3 separate regions of the Homo sapiens genome follow, and all the other regions are linked to region 1. The links are contacts of gene promoters, found by promoter capture Hi-C in human tissues and cell types (Jung and others, 2019). All regions are on one chromosome and are shown on one strand. Each heading gives the region's core, a stretch centred on a gene start or on the middle of the fragment in contact. The rest is flanking DNA. Distances are from core to core; before and after follow the strand shown.

Evidence for each region. Contacts are between HindIII fragments. The study calls those that stand out against the background at their distance.
Region 2: a fragment that was not itself captured here is called in contact with the fragment with the promoter of UNC80 in region 1 in 2 of the 25 tissues and cell types used here (dorsolateral prefrontal cortex and mesendoderm cells).
Region 3: a fragment that was not itself captured here is called in contact with the fragment with the promoter of UNC80 in region 1 in 1 of the 25 tissues and cell types used here (H1 embryonic stem cells).

Annotation. Positions count from the first base shown.
Region 1 is chr2:209,769,973-209,773,287 of GRCh38, forward strand. UNC80 (unc-80 subunit of NALCN channel complex) reads left to right here and starts at 1,860. Exons shown (of 65, transcript NM_001371986.1): 1 at 1,860-2,192; 2 at 3,122-3,170. The coding sequence starts at 2,101. The HindIII fragment of the contact is 3,928 bases long and covers 467-3,315 here.
Region 2 is chr2:209,568,887-209,572,201 of GRCh38, forward strand. The region is part of intron 2 of MAP2 (microtubule associated protein 2); the gene reads left to right. Among named protein-coding and RNA genes, the nearest start is that of MAP2, 150 kb to the left of the region's middle. The HindIII fragment of the contact is 8,691 bases long and covers 1-3,315 here.
Region 3 is chr2:209,954,634-209,957,948 of GRCh38, forward strand. UNC80 (unc-80 subunit of NALCN channel complex) reads left to right here. Exons shown (of 65, transcript NM_001371986.1): 49 at 3,011-3,103. Among named protein-coding and RNA genes, the nearest start is that of RPE, 46 kb to the right of the region's middle. The HindIII fragment of the contact is 3,752 bases long and covers 1-3,315 here.

The sequences.
Region 1 (3,315 bases), core at 610-3,109:
TCACCCCCTTGTCTGTAGTTCTGCTATTATGATCAGGGTTCAGGATCTCATAAAACATTTCTCTAATCTTCATACTGGGGTTCCTAATACAACTTTTGCCTGTTTCAAATAATCCCTACATTCCTGTCATGTCATTCACACTTAAATGGATATGAAGTTTCTACTTCTCTGCTTAAAGGCCTTCTAGGAAAACTTTCTAGCCTGTCATACAAAGTCTCCATCTGATTCCTACACATAATTTCTGCCTTGACCTTTTGTTCATAACTGAATCTGCATTCGTATCTCCCATGATTCTTTTCTCTTTTCATGTCTGTCTTCTCTTAATATTCAGACTTCCTTGTGAGCAAGAGTCCATATAGCTCCATAGAGCTATGAGTATATAAAATACACTCAATAAATATGCCTTGAGTAAACTGTACTTAGAATCTTTCTTTGTTTCAAGATCCATATTTGAGATCATAAGATCCATATTTTTGAGATTCATAATAAAAGATAACTTCAAGAAAGTAAATGAAGAATTTATTTCTATGGCAAAAAATATTGATATATACTATGCTGTTAATTATATATGAAATATTACATCTGTTGAGATTAGGACCTGGAGTCTGATTCTTCATTTCATGGATTACACCAATATCTTTGCTCTAAAAGATGAGGCCAGGCATGGTGGCTCATGCCTGTAATCCCAGAACTTTGAGAAGCCAAGGTGAAAGGATTGCTTGAGCCCAGGAGTTTGAGACTAGCCTGGGAAACATAGTGTGACCCCCATCTCTACAAAAATAAAAAATTAGCTGGGAGTAGTGGTGCACACCTGTAGTCCCAACTGTTGGGGAGACTGAGCTGAGAGGATCTCTTGAGCCTGGGAGGTCAAGGCTGCAGTGAGTCGTGATCACACGTCTGCACTCCAGCCTGGTTGAAGAGCGAGATTCCGTCAAAGAACAAGAAAGAAGAAAGAAGGAGAAGGAGGAGAAGAGGAGGAGGAGGAGAAGGGGGAGGAGGAGGAGGAAGAAGGAGAAGGAGGAGGGGGAGGAGGAGGAATTGCAGGTAGTTACTATTCCGATTGCTTCACCCCACCTCACCCCCCTCCCCGGCCTACTTGTTTTACTCCTAGATAATATATCTAACAGCAATCCAACTATAAAATATTAATATATGTAACATATAAGCATTTGACTATTACAACTGAAGGAAAATGGTAGCTATCACTGGGGGCGAACAGGATCACCCAAGTGCATTTAATGGACTGTAATAAACCACATTTCCTCACAGCATGATTCAAATGTTCTTCCTCAATTTGCAATTAACTGATATCCACAACTGGTTACTTTGGGAACTTTGTATTCCTGCTTTAGGAAAACAAACAAGGTTTATTTCTTGTGGTTATCATATAAAAATAACTTCTCATATCTAAGATCTTTCAAGCTTCCTCTCACTTGCCAACCTTGCCTCACCTTCCTGGTTTACACTTCTAATAATTTTCATGTGTTCCTCCGGCTAACCCCTGGACTCCTGATCTCCTTGCTGGAGGTGAGAATGATGCCAGGGTTAGCGACTGCTCTGCGGTTCCCCAAAGCTCCTCCTACCCAGACGGCGACAGTTTGGATGCTGAGGTTGGAAAGCAGGACAGGGGACACTCCTGAGTGCAGCTCGGAGCGGGGAAAGCCGAATTCCGGGGGCTGAAGAGGCCGCGCAGGGGACGAGCGCCTGCGATGCGGAGCGTGGACTTCTTGGGCCGTACCCCTGCGGCTCAAGCTGCCCCGGATTCGCTTCTCCGGCCGTGCAGCCCGGCGCGGGCCGCTGTCCACAGTGGGAGGTGCTGAAAGCAGGGAGCGGGTGCGGGGGCGGCGAGGCGGACCGCTGCTCCGAGCGCCCCCCTCCTCGCTCCGCGGCTCCTCCAGCCCTCCCCTCCTCCCGCAGCCATGTTCCACGCGCGGGGAGGGGTGGGGGGAGGGGAGAGGCACGGGGGATCAGGGCGGAGAGAGCCGGCTCTGCCTCGGGGAAGGAGGGGATGAGAGTTGGGAGCAGCGGGAGGAGGCGGCGGCGGCGGCTAGCGAGGAGACAGAGCTGGGTCCTGCAGTAGGACTCCCGGGAGCCACCATTATGGTGAAGAGGAAGAGCTCCGAGGGCCAGGAGCAGGACGGCGGCCGCGGCATCCCCCTGCCCATCCAGACCTTCCTGTGGCGGCAAACCAGGTGAGGGGCGCAGAGGGCGCACCGCGGGCCGCCCTGGGCTGGGGGCGCTCCTGGGGCCGCCCGGGTCGCCGCTGCCGCCGCCGCCGCTGAGGCCGCGCCACAGCCTGCAGCTCCCTCTCTGGGGCTGGAAAACAAGCCCTCTGCACCAGCTTAAAAACACGCATTAAAATATGTATATATATGTATATATTTCAGTGAAGTTTGACGACAAGCAGATTGGCAGTTGTCGCATAAATGTATACATTATTTTAGGGGGTGGGAGGGCAGAGAGCCTGGGAAGAGGGGGCGGGGAGCTAGATAATTATGACTGGTTGTGCTCCTGCGTCCAATTCCCCCTCCATCTCCTGCTGTAATTCTAGCCCAGTGACCTGTTGTTTTTCCAGCTCCTGTTTGGCGAATATCTGCTATGCCCACTTGTTAACCGTTTTGCTCAGATTAATCTCCCCAGTTAAATCTCCTGAGGATTTGTGATAAGGGACCTTCCCCCACAACCCCGGAAAGGCCTGACACCTATTCCAATAAACAGAAAAGGTTTTCTTTATTATTGTTATTTTAGAGATTTATCAGATAAGATATTAGATTCTGGAAATTATGACCCATAAGCCGTGTTCAATTTTCAGTTTTTATTATGACTGTACACGTAAGTAATGCACCACTTCTGACCACTGGCGATTTAAAATCTTAGAAGTCTTCAGATTAAGAGTGGATACCGAAAACCATCGAGATCCACTTCTCTTTCATATATGCAATTACACGTGTAAAAGAAAATGTCATCAGCTGTTCAACACCTGCTCATTAAAAAGCTATAAGGAAGCATGAAATTTGAATTTCATAGCATCCTGTCTTATTCATTGAAAAATACGTCACAAGGATGCTTTAATAATAATTTTACTTATGTTTATTAACAAATATCTCTATTAATTTTTCAGTGCATTTTTGAGGCCCAAACTGGGGAAGCAATATGAAGCTTCTTGTGTGGTATGTGATTTTCACCATTTAATAATTATTTCCCTATTCTGTGTGGTGGTTTGAACCCAAAGACAGATTTTAAATCAAACGGACTATATATATTAATTCACTTGGCAAATATTATTGATCACCCACTCTGTGCCAGGCACAATTC
Region 2 (3,315 bases), core at 345-2,844, 200 kb before region 1:
CTTAATTTTCCTTCATGGTTTGCCCATTTCTCTTGCAAATATTGTTTGCCTATAGGGTAGTTGTACCTACAGTGAATACGGTTTGTCTTAACACTTAGGTTATATGTAAGATAAAAATAAATTTACTAGTTATAACTAAGGATTCACAAGTAGATAAGAAAAACTGCTAGAATAATTTTTGTAGAAATAAAAAAATAAGTAAATACTTTTTAAAACTTGAAGTAAAGGAAGAGGGGTTACTCAAACTCCCTATAAATGTGCCAAAGATGAAAAATCTAAAATTTGTATATTCAAATAGCTAACCAAGACCCAAAATAAATGAAACACTTACACTACATGTTTTATCTCATGATTTCTGAAACTTTTAGCCCTAAGACTTTTAGGAAGGTAATTTATGCTTCTTATATGAGCTTTAATGTTTTAATTTCAGTGTTTCAGTGTTCATGCATGCATGAATGAATATTTATTGAATATTTATTGTGCACCAGTTATATACCAGACCTAGTTCTAGGTATTTGGGATACATTCATGAACAAAACAGGCAGAGTCTTGCCTTCATGAAGCTTACAAGTGAATGGGGAAAGACAATAAAGGATAAACATAACAAGTAAATTAATTATGTGGCACATTAGAAGATGATAGCAAAATGGAGTAAGGGGGATTGGGAGTAGGAATTACAGATTGCAGTATTGAATAGGATGGTCAGGTGAAGCCTGCTTGAGAAGGCAATATCTGAGGGAAAACTTCATGGAAAGAATAGAATTGTCTGAAATGAAAAAGTGTCCACACCAAAATTTAACTATTAAAAATGTGTTAACTTTTTTAATGGACATAGATTACATAACATGATATGGTGTTTTCTCATGTAACGTTTAAGATTCACCATGATGTTTGATGATTTCTAACTTGATAGAATAAAATAAGGGTAGTGATTGTGTTAAGATACGTACTTTACTATTATCATCTGTACTTCTAAGATAGGAGTTAATTTCAACAAGATGTTTCAAAACAATCATAATAAGCCCAAATTGTCAAACAGCAAAGTTCTTTAAAAACCCATGAGCCTATATTGCACTCATATATTCTATATCCTCTGCCAAGATTAAACCAGATAGATAGTAATTAAAATTAAGATGTTTTCCTCACCTCCAGGAATGCTTGTTTATACATATATATTATTTAAATATGAACTGATGGAATCTGAAATAATTCTGACAGTAAAAATCTATATTTTTAATCTTATCTGTTTTATGCACAGCCTACTTACATAACAAGTAGTCTGTCTAAACTCCCTCTCCTGGAAAAATAGAAAATTCTTAATTCTGTGTTTAATTTATCTCTTCCCTTTCTGCTATCTTGTAAGTGTAAATGGAAAATTCTTAGTTCTATGTTTATCTCTTCCTCTTCTGATACCTTCTAAGTGTTAGGCTGAATTACAAACTAATTAGCTGAGAAGTCCAGGGATTGAATTTCTGCTCTACCACTTACCAGCTGTGTTCCCCTGGGCACTTTACTAAACCTAATTAGGCCTATTTCCTCAACTGTAAAATGGAGGCACATGACTCTCAGAATTGTTGAATAAAATAATGTACTCAAAAAGACTGGCACTTTATAGGTTCTTAATCATTTTATCAGAATCATGTCATATGCTTTTCAAATTCGCAAATATTAGAATAAATAACTGAATGTAAATTACTGAAAAATGGACCAAGCCCGTATCTAATAACAGGCATTATAGTATAATGATGGTTTTTGTTTTTTGATTTATATGTTGGCGATTCTGAGAAAGGAAAGAGCTTTATGACATTATGTGCTTGTGGGAATTTTGGAAGCCATTATGAAAAAGGCACAATTTTAAATGAACCTAAAAGGAAATGTAAGATTTGGGTTGGAAGAGAAGAAATCAGTGATTCCTGAAATAAACTTACGATTACGATAGGCCTCAATGGGTAATGGATTTTTGTGAAAAGGATGATACGGGAAGCATCTTAGCTGTCCATTCTTTTGTCATAATAGCGTAGTTCTGTAAGGGCTGCTTCACACAAATACTTTCACTTGTTGCCATATTCCTAAAATACAAATTTTACTTCCATTTCTCATTTCATGTGCTTTTACTTTACAGTTGCCATTTATTTACTAAAAGCCAATGTAAAACATACTCTCCCTACTAAGGAGAATGTGCCCTTACAATTTGTTTATTTAATATACACATAATCATATAGTCTTTATTTACACAGCCATGGTTACATGGTATGTGTGTAAAATATATGCTTATACAAGAACCCTTTTGCATAATATTCACTATAGATCCTAAAACTTATGAATGAAGAACTTCTAAAACAATGGCACCATAATATTTATTACAATTTTTATTATGAAGGTACATTACATTAATAGAGTGCCCTCTACCCCATGTCACTGCCACTCAGGTCAAGAAGACATTGTACATCTTCCAAGTCAATACAGTCTCTCATACTACTTTCTACAGAGGTAAACAGTATTCCGATTTCTTTCTCTGAATATTAGTTTTATCTGCTCTGGAAGTTCATATATTATTCCATATATTTAGTTTAGTATTTACTTTCACTAGATATTGCCAAACAGTTTTCCAAAGTGGTTGTATTAATTTAAGCTCTCACCAGCAATGTATGAGAGTCTTAGTTGTTCAACTATTATAGTTTTCCTTTCAACCTCTTGAGAGCTTTTAATTCCCAACATAGTTCTTAAAGTGTAATGAGATTATGACTTCAGGAATTGAAGTAGCAATTATTTTTCATAATTATAGTTCATGTGACATTGTTTTTAAAAAGAAGTTTGGTTTATTTTACTTTAGTAAAAGTATGTGAGAAGACTAGAACTTTGAGTATAGTTATTTCATGAGCTTAGGTGGTAATGTCATATGAAATCTAAATATGGCTTTTAAGCAAGTGTTTTTATTAAATTGCAGTCAGACTTTGAATGCTGACAATAAGAATAACCTGTCTTTCTTTCTCTCTCTCCATTTATACCATCCCATTGGCTTTACCTTGATAAGTGAAATAAAAGCACTGATGGAATAAAGAAAAACGAGAATTTATTACTTTTAGAATTGTGCAAAATTTGTCAGTGAAATATGAATATCTCGGAGGTTCAAGATGGTGCATAATCCAAAAATAATTTGAAATGTATTATGTACATACATTTGGATAAGAATATAAGTGATTTTTTAAAAAAATCATCATACTAAGATTCTAAATGAAATAGTCAAGCTAAACTCTGTTCATCATAACTCAGAAGTATTAAAGCCTGATTCAAGAGCAATTGGAAAGTGATTTC
Region 3 (3,315 bases), core at 358-2,857, 180 kb after region 1:
TTATTATAGTATTTTATGAGACATGGAATGCCTACAATTCCAACTAAGTATTCTTTTATTATTTTACTGTTTGTGAAGTGTTGTGTTTTTAACTATAATTTCAGAAACTACATAACCAATATAAACAGCAGAATGTTATCCTACTGCTTGAATTAATAGATTCTCTGTGGGACAGGATTAAATAATGCGGAGAGAGGATTGAGAAATTTGGGAATGGTAAGGTAAATTGGCACCAGAGTTCAGCCCTAAACAAAGTTCAAGCAGTTAGTCCTGTCGCAAGATGCTTGGGTGCCGAAGCAGAGTCACTAAGCTGCCATGTGGCAGGAAAGGGGCAGGCAGGGAGCCCTGGATGAGACAAAAAAATAAAATGCAAGTGGGGAAGGTGGATGCAGGACACTATGCGTATGATGGGCTTTTCTGCTCTGTTCCCATCTAAATTAGCTGCCAGGAAATATTCTTCCCCAGGATAGGGATGGGGAAGCCTTCTTCCTGGGTTTAGTGTCTTTGCTCCTCCATTCCATTCTGCCATGCTGTGTGTCCAATCTAAAGTGCCAGATCCTTAGTGTGAAATTGTCTACGCCTCCACCAAAAGGCACCAACTCCCCCAGCCCCATCTTGCTGTGCTGGTAAGGGGGAAGCCCTTTAGTCCAGGAAGGACTTTTTCAGCATGCATCAGCAAGAAAAAGAGAGAGTGGGATTGTAATTCATTAGCAGCAACAGATGTTTAGTTTCTAATCATGAGCTACATTGCCAAACTAGGCAAGCAGAATATTGCCCAAAAGCCTTCTGTAGACTATCATCCTGAAATGTTCATATGCACCTAAACTAAGGAAATGGGAAGAGTTGGCACAGACAGCCATGACAAATTATCTCTTCCAAGGAGAAATAGTTTTCTATGCTATTGCTGATGGTTTCATGAAAGTCCCAGAAGAATATCCTAAAGAGAAATGAAAGACTTACACTCTTCCTTCTGTACCCATCTGGTTATGTCACTGGCCTTTTCCTACAACTAGAAGAAAGAAAAGCAGTCAATTGTTCCCAAATGCCACTGTATTTCTAATATATATATATATATATATATATATATATATATATATATATATATACACACACACACACACACACAGAGAGAGACTGACTCACTCTGTCACCCAGGCTGGAGTTCAGTGGCATAATCTTGGCTCACTGCAACCTCCGCCTCCCGGGTTTAAGCAATTCTCATGCCTCAGCCTCCCAAAAAGCTGGGATTATAGGCATGCACCACCAGGCCCCGATAATTTTTGTATTTTCAGTAGAGACGGTGTTTCCCCATGTTGGCCAGGCTGGTCTCGAACTCCTGGCCTCAAGTGATCCACCCACCTCGGCCTCCTAAAGTGCTGGGATTACAGGTGTAAGCCACCATACTCAGCCTATTTCTCCTCATATTACGTAATGTTAAAGCTTTCCTCATTTCTATACCTTTTTATAAGGATAAGTCAATTAACTTATCCAAAATTGACTTACTCGAAGTGTCACAAAGAGTTATGGATGGAGCTCTGGCATTTAAAATTATGTGGCTTTAAATATTCCAGTGCATTTAATATTCTTTTGGCAGAGAAGACTAGCTTCATTATTTGGTAGTAGTTACTCAAACCAAAATTGGCTTCACTGTATTTACAAAAAGAAGATAAGAATTCTCTGCTCAGGGTTTCTCAAGGTGGAAGTCAAGTTGTCAGCTAGTCTGAACTTTTATCTGAAGGCACTGGGGAAGAATGAACTTCCAAGCTCATTCAATTTTTTGGCAGAATCTAGTTCCATGCGGCTTTAGGTCTGAGGTCCCATTTCCTGGCTGGCTGTCAGCCAGGCACCACTCTGCATTGAGAAGGCACCTGCATTTCTTCTCACATGCTCCCCCTCTACCTTCCAACCAGCAATAGCATCTTGAATCCTTTTTTTTTTAAATTTTTTAATTTTTTTTAAATTATACTTTAAGTTTTAGGGTACATGTGCACATTGTGCAGGTTAGTTACATATGTATACATGTGCAGCGCACCAGCATAGCATCTTGAATCCTTATGCTTCAAATCTCTCTGCCCTAGCCAGAGAAGACTCTCTGCTTTTGAAGGGCTGGTGTGACTAGATTAGGCCTATGCAGATACTCCCCCTTTTTGCCGTATAATGTAACATAATCACTAGAGTAACACCAACGGGCAAAGATACTGGGAGCCATCTCTAAATTGTGTCTATCACAACAGGCACAGGAAGAGGAGATCTGGTGTGATCGTTAAAAGCTTACTTTCTAGCCATCCCCAGCAGACAGAAAGTGAGCAACAAAGAAGCAAACCTTGATGATTTCATAAAAGCAGTTGCTTTAAAAAAAACTGCATTATGCCTTTTTCGTCCTAGATGCCAATACAGAGGCAAATTTTACCTATTATTTGAAGTAAATCTGGCAGATATAAAATGAGATGATTCAAATCTATTACTAACGATCTAAATTACTGACTTATAAGATACTAACTTACTCACTTTCCTGGGTAGCCTTAGGTGTGATGTGACTAGGAGAATTCTTTTATTCTTTGATAGTTTCTCAGAAAAAATAGAGTAGTTGATAATGGTGTAGGTGGCCAAAGTGGTACATACATCCTTGCCTTTTACTTATTATCTAGAATGGTGAACTACCCAGTAGAACTGAAGAATGACCTCTTTACTCTCAACTGGTACAGACTTAGAAGTCTGTAGATATTTCATAAATGTCTTGTTGGAAGAGTCATTTTGACGAGTCTATTACTCAGAACAAAGAAGTGGAAGAACTTAAATCATGATGAGCTTATAAACCCCTGGGAATCAATGTTCTTTTAAAGTGCCTCTCAGAACAAACAGAAAAGCCCAAAGCTAGACAGCCTGTCTTTTGAAGACTCTAAAACTAACTTAAAACTTATGTGTGCTTCAGTAACTTGAGGATTTAATAAATGTTTCCATTTCTGTTGTTGTTGTTGTTTTGCTGTGGTGATTACTGTCATTGTTACAGGCCCATGACAGCCCCACAGATGAGCAGGTGTGACCAAGGTCATAAGGGAACCACCACAGCCAATCACACCATGTCGTCTGGGGTGAACACCAGGTAATTCACTGCGCCTTATTCTTCTATGGTCTCTCAATTTCATACAACCCGAATGTCAGCTGTTGAGAATGAAAGGAACCCTGAACATAGTCAATATTGAGTGTGAAAACCTCCAAGGAAAAGAAAAGAAGGTGAGAGTTTAGAGTTACAAGAAAATACCAAGGCTTCTTTTGAAATTGTCAAAGAGAAATCTAAACCAACTTCATAAATAG